Regions from separate parts of the Homo sapiens genome. Here region 2 is linked to region 1. The links are contacts of gene promoters, found by promoter capture Hi-C in blood cells and fetal thymus (Javierre and others, 2016). All regions are on one chromosome and are shown on one strand. Each heading gives the region's core, a stretch centred on a gene start or on the middle of the fragment in contact. The rest is flanking DNA. Distances are from core to core; before and after follow the strand shown. Region 1 holds the start of DNAJC19 (DnaJ heat shock protein family (Hsp40) member C19). Region 2 overlaps FXR1 (FMR1 autosomal homolog 1).

The links. Contacts are between HindIII fragments. The CHiCAGO score rates a contact against its expected background, and 5 or more counts as called.
Region 2: a fragment that was not itself captured here is called in contact with the fragment with the promoter of DNAJC19 in region 1 in 4 of 17 cell types (non-activated CD4 T cells, naive CD4 T cells, naive CD8 T cells and 1 more); the score reaches 5.5 in non-activated CD4 T cells.

What each region holds. Positions count from the first base shown.
Region 1 is chr3:180,987,826-180,991,296 of GRCh38, forward strand. It overlaps DNAJC19 (DnaJ heat shock protein family (Hsp40) member C19), which reads right to left and starts at 1,911. Exons shown (of 6, transcript NM_145261.4): 1 at 1,775-1,911; 2 at 353-404; 3 at 198-271. The coding sequence starts at 1,777. The HindIII fragment of the contact is 8,604 bases long and covers 1-3,471 here.
Region 2 is chr3:180,937,048-180,940,310 of GRCh38, forward strand. The region is part of intron 3 of FXR1 (FMR1 autosomal homolog 1); the gene reads left to right. Among named protein-coding and RNA genes, the nearest start is that of FXR1, 26 kb to the left of the region's middle. The HindIII fragment of the contact is 2,077 bases long and covers 763-2,839 here.

The sequences.
Region 1 (3,471 bases), core at 661-3,160:
ACTCTGTCACATATAACATCTGATGTTTCAGGGTAGCACCATCACAAAGTTCAGAACTTCTATACTCTCCTTGCAGGAAGCAGGAGAATGGGTCCAAAGCAATCACTTAGAACTTCATGGATATTTGGAAATTTACCCTTCCCTAAGTGTGGCTCTAGGTTTCAAATAGAAGCAGCAAAGAATTAACAAAGTCTTACAGATTTTGGTAGGCTTTGAAAAACTTGTTTTACTTGAGGCTCCATATGCTTCATGGCTTGCAAAACGTAACGGCCTAAAACCAAAAGCAACAGAATAAGTAAACTAAATCTCCAATCTCCCCGACTTCACTTCCATCCCCAAACCATAAACAAACCTGCAAATCCTGCAGCAGCAATGGTCAGTCCAACTGCTACCACTGTACTGGCCTGGTAAGGGGGAGAAGAGTAAATATTTACTTCTCTAATTCCCACCCTTTCTCATTTTGCCCATTCTTCCATCCCCAACTCATTACAAACTGCATTTTAATAGGAGAAACAACTTTTTTTTTTCTTTTTTTTTTTTTTTTTTTAAGAGACGGAGTCTTGCTATGTTGCTTAGGCTGGTCTTGAACTCCTGGCCTCAAGCAATCCTCCCACCTTGGCCTCCCAAAGTGCTAAGATTATAGGCATAAGCCACCATGCCTGGCAGAGAAACAACTTTTAAGGCGGAAATATTCTGTCCAGTAATCTTTAAAACTACTGCATCTGTTATGCTGAATGCATTAAAGTTACAGGATTCATCATATGGGAAAGAGGGCAAGTTCGACTTGCTTATTTATCTTTACAATAGTGAAAAAGATGATTCCCTCCCTTTGAAAACTTCTTTCATCACCAGACAAATTAAGTCACATTAAAGTTCAATCAAAAGTAGTGGAAATAGGCCAGGCGCGGTGGCTCACGCCTGTAATTCCAGCATTTTGGGAGGCGAGGCGGGCGTATCACTAGGTCGGGAGATCGAGACCATCCTGGCTACCATGGTGAAACCCCGTCTCTACTAAAAATACAAAAAAAAAAAAAATTAGCTGGGCGTGGTGGTGGGCGCCTGTAATCCCAGCTACTTGGGAGGCTGAGGCAGGAGAATGGCGAACCCGGGAGGCGGAGCTTGTAGTGAGCCAAGATTGTGCCACTGCACTCCAGCCTAGGCGACCGAGCAAGACTCTGTCTCAAAAAAAAAAAAAAAAATGTGGAAATAAGGTTTCTGCTACAGAAGGAAAAACTGTTTACAGACGGCTCCTGTAAAATTCTAACAACGCATTTTCGAGGCTAAACGTGGGCTAAACTAGGAGACTAATACCTTTGGCACTGCCCTGTTGTTTCCTAACAAGACAGGCCCAAATATGTTCAGGAAGCATGGAGAAGACATCTGTCAGCAAAAGCCAAAGAGAAGGACATAGCAAAGTGGAGCTAGTGCTGTGAAGATGTGTTAGGGCAAGGGCACTTATAATCAAATACGTTTCCACTAATCTCCGAGTCCATGACAGCCTCTGACCTTACAGGAGTTCCAGGCAAGCAACACCTGCAGAGCCCGTGCGGACAAGAAGCTGGAGAACCGTGCAGAAAGACGATGTAAAAACACAAACCCCCAAGAGAGCGAGCCAACAGGGTTGTGTCCTGGTGAGTGTGACTCCCCAATAACCGAAACCTCCCGCCCGCAGTCGCACTAAGGAGCACAACTTCAACTCCACACCTCCGAGGCGGGGAGCTGAGGTTGAGGCCTGGGCCGGAGGTCGCCAAGAAGACCGGAAGGCCGCACTCACCATGGCTCCGGCTGGGCTCCCTTGCTTCCACCGGGAGCACGGCTCATCCCAGCTCAGAGGCCGCGGCCAACACCTGCACGCCTTTACCAGAGAGCGACGCAACCCCCAACCTCAAGCACAGGCGCCCTACGCAACACGGCAGGAGCAGCCGCAAACTAGGCCGGAAAACTGTCGTAAAAGGGGACGCGGAGGAGAAGGAAAGTCGCTCAAGCAGTGGACAGAGCGGAGAAAGCGACTTCGGGTTGGTTGAAGGGTGGGCGGATCTCTTTATTTCTGGGTGTAGGGGTGGGGCTTCTCTGTGTTTTCTGTCCTTTGCTCCTGGGCGGTGGGTATTTGGAAATTCTTGCAGGGAAGGGCATGGGCAGCCTTACTCAGACCGATTTTTTCCCCCTACATCTTAGCACCTCGTTTTGCCTTTATTTTATGTTAATAATTGTCAAGGGTAATGAATGTAGTTAAACATGCTGTGACATTTCCACCACGAACCCAAACAAATATGTTGTAACCCAGTGTAGGAAACGAGATGCCCAGAAAAACAAATGAAACCAACCACACTGTGTTTCAGGGATTGCTCGGTAGCATTTTTTAATGTAAAAGAACTTCATTTAAGGATGTGACTTGACAAGACTTTGTGAATATTTGGGTTTTCGTTTTGTAGAATGGGATTAAAGACAGTTCATATTCTGAACATGGAATGTCAAGATCCTACAACTGAAAAGGGCTATTTAAAAGTTTTCCTCCTCACCCAAAATAAAAAGTAGGGCTGGATTTTGCCCTTACGTGGACATCAGTTTCATACATCCCTACATAAATGCTTGAGAAGAAAAAAATAATGGAGACAATAATGGAATTTTACAATGCAACGTTTGCATGATCAAAATAAGTTTGGAGTTACTTCCCACTCAGAATTTACAGTGTTAAATATCCGTTTACATTGCAATGCAATTCTGCTTTGATGAGTTTGTTAGTTATTAAACAAATATGCAAAATTTTTGGGTTTGTTTTCCTCATCTGTAAAAGCAGTTTGCATTTGATAATCCAAGAGCTCTTCTAGCGCTAAGGTTTTTGTGATGTAATTTATTGTCAACACATGATTTAAGGTGACATCCAGCACTAAGACACTAGCATTAAGTTTATAACTTCCTCTTTTGCCTCTCTTTTATCTGGTTTTTACCCAACAATTACAAAATAAATAATCAAGTGAGGCATAAGACCTTGGGACCAAATTGGCATCAACAAGCTAGAATGCTATCTGGAAAAATTTATTATGCATATTTTTGGTATGTACAAACTGTGTAATGCAGTTTCTGGAGGAATAGATTTACAGTAGACTCTAATTAGCTTTGAGACTTTACAAAACCCAGACTCAGGAAATTGGGAGTAGCAACACAGCAAGACATTTTGTTGAGCTGGAGATAGCTCTTTTTTTGGTGGCAGATCAAACTGGAGGTAACCTGGCTCTGTCACTTACTAATACTGTGACTTGGAAAAGTTATTTCTGATTGAGTTTCTTCCTCATTTGTAAAATGAAGGTAATGATAACTACCTTGCCGAGTTTTTGTGAACGTAGAGATTATGCACATATTGTGTTCTGCTTATGGTCATCACTCAGTGTGGGGCTATTATTATGAGGGAAGCCAGAGTGCAAATTGGAGTGTAGAAGCCTTCCTCATTCTCATGATACCTCACTCATGAAT
Region 2 (3,263 bases), core at 551-3,050, 51 kb before region 1:
TTCATTTGGACTTTAGATTTTATTGAAAATGTTTTTCTCAATATTGTATCTCTAATAGTTTTCTGTGAGAATAAAGGGCTTGATTCATTTTCATTTTTCAAAATTTATTTCTGATACAGTGTTTTTTGGATTTTGAGTAAGCAAAAGTTAGGTCAAGCAAGGAATGATGTAGGTTTGGACATGTTCTAGAATTAGAAATGTGTGGCACTCAGTTTTGAGAGTAATGCTTCTTACACTTTTTTGTTGTTTAGACACTTAAAATTGGTAGCGTCAAGTCTCAGATTAAAGGGAAAACTACTCTTGGTGGGGTGGTGAGGGTGTTGTTACAGTGTACTTTTTCCATTCCTGTCCAGGAGGGTCCTTCCCTGTTCCTGAACAGTCTGGCTCACCCCTGTGGTCTGCCTCCGCTTTTGTGAAGAAGACATTGGTGTTAGAGATTGAATGATTTAGAAATTGAATCTAGAGTTTTTTTTAAATTTCACGTTATGTTTTATGATTCAGCTCTGGTCAAATTTGCTCTCTAGAATTTTGTAAGTCATTATCTGAAATTAAAATGTGATTTTTTTTCACTTTTGAAAAATTTAAAAATTAATATAAGGAAAAAGTTTAAGCATAATCTTGCCACCCATAGGATTTTGTTTTTTTGTCACCGTTTATTAAGGATTTATCCATATTACGTAGAGTGTTTAGAAATTCGGAGTTAGTGCTTTCCCAGGTAACGTTTCGAAAGCCTCTTCCCCTTCTTTAAATTTAAAGTAATAAAGCTTAATGTAAAAAATGAAATGGTAAAAAATTATATAAAGTACAAAGTAAACCTTCCATCTTAATGTAGGTGTACTTGTCCACCCACCCTATCTTAAATCTCATTTACCAGAGTTGATTCTCTTGTAAGTTTTTTATTTGCATGTATAAAGGACATATTTAAGTTGAAAAAAAATTGGGATTAAGTTATATATTTGTGACTTTTGTATTCACTTAATTAGGACAGCAAACATTTTCGTGTCTTCTCATTTAAATTTACCTCATTTTTTGTAACCACCTCAAAATTATTTGGTGTGGATATATCAAATTAAAAGACATTGAAATTACCAGATTTTTTGCTGTTAGCAAAAGAAAACAATGCCAGAGTTAAAGTTAATATTCTTATGCAAGTCTGGTAGTATAATTCCTAAGAGGTTAATGTTTTTAAAAGTATTAAAATGTACCATTTCATCCTCCAAAAATGTCTTCAGAATTACTTTATACTTTTATTAACACTGGAGGTATCTTTTTCATACATTAAGTGACTGTATTATATTGTTCATATGTACAGTTTTGTAAACTTGGTGGATGGAAACTGATGTCTCATGAATTCTCATTTCCTTAATGAATAGTAGTATGGGAACATCACTTAAATTAGTTGGTTGGCTCTTAACCCCTTGTTCTGTGAATTGTCTATTTTTTGTTTGTGCAGTTTTTGGTGTAGGAAGTCCTTGCATTTTATGGCTGAGTTTTATTTTTTTATTTTATTTTATTTTTGAGATGGAGTTTTGCTCCTGTTGCTCAGGCTGGAGTGCAATGGTGCGATCTCGGCTCACTACAACCTCCACCTCCCGGGTTCAAGCGATTCTCCTGCCTCAGCCTCCCTAGTAGCTGGGATTACAGGCATGCGCCATCATACCCGGCTGATTTTGTATTTTCAGTAGCGACGGGGTTTCTCCATGTTGGTCAGGCTGGTCTCAAACTCCCGACCTCAGGTGATCAGCCTGCCTTGGCCTCCCAAAGTTCTGGGATTACAGGTGTGAGCCACTGTGCCCAGCCCTGAGTTTTTATCTTTTTTGTGTTTTTTTCTTAGGCAATTTTTTTATTTTTTATTTTTTATTTTTTGAGATGGAGTCTCACTAAGTTGCTCAGGTTGGAGTACAGTGGCACAATCTCAGTTCACTGCAACCTCCACCTCCCGATTTTAAGTGATTGTCGTGCCTTGGCCTCTGAGTAGCTGGAATTACAGGTGTGAGCCACAATGCCCAGCTAATTTTTTTATTTTTAGTAGAGATGGTGTTTTGTGATGTTGGCCAGGCTGGTCTCGAACTTCTGGCTTCAAGTGAACACCCGCCTCGGCCTCCCAAAGTGCTGAGATTATAGGCGTGAGACACTGCGCAGGCTTACTTTTACATTTTTAAATTATGTTTTCTACATCTGCTTCCCTGCACTATTTTTCCCTTATACCGGTGGGGGGGTGTGGGTGGTAATCCTTTTAGGTTGCTTCATATCTGATCGCCTTAGTTATGAAATGTAATTTTTTGGTCAATAAACACTTTTTCTTAAAATTTTTCTGGGATTGTGCAAAATAGCAGAGGTAAACTGTCATTCTTCAATCATACTTAGAGATGGTCAGGCTCGATTGTTTACTGGTTTATTATAAAGGATACAAGTCAGGAACTGCCAAATGAAAGAGATGCATGAGGCAAGGTCGGGGTGAGGGAAGGGGCTTGGAAAGTAGAGCTTCCATGACTTCTTTGAGCATGCCACATTTCCAGCCCATCAATAGATTCACCAGCCCGGGAGCTCTACCATCATACTTTTTAAACAGATTATTTCAGAGTCACAAAACGGTTTGTGTCCTCTTCTTAACTGTGTGAATACTTTATTAGCTTGTCCAAGGTTAGTCTGGAGGTTGGGAAGCTGATAACCAGTTTCATTTTTTGTTTTTCCAAATGTATTCAGAGGGTTTGGTCAGTTTTGTGCCAGACTCACAACATTCTTCTGCAGCTCTAGGAATCCTTTGAAGGAAAGAAAAGGTGACTTTGCCCTTAGTAATAAATTTAGAACAAAAATGATCCAAGAGAGAGCTTTATTAAGCTTGTAAGGTGATTTTTAAAGACTTGAGCCATAAGAAATTTCCATTCTTGTAGGTCAGAAATGGTTAAGTATTGACAGTTTCATATGGTTTACACTAACATTTTGTTACATTAAAAATATATTGGTTGCTTAAATACAGGGTTTGCCTTTCTAGCCCCTTAGGAAATTTACATGAAGTTACAGCACATAAAGTAATGTCATGGCCCAGCAGTGGACCCAAGAAGACAACATATGATTTATAGTAGAAAGTTAATTTTGAAAAGGTCTAAAATGGAAATATTTATTTTTATACCTAATTAGTGGTTTTTTATTTGCCTTTTAAAAATGGTGTCATCTCTTTAAAAATCTTCATAACACTTAATAGTAAATATTTCATAAGTATTTGCTTAATGATTGATTTTTGCTGACTAAAGATTGCTAGA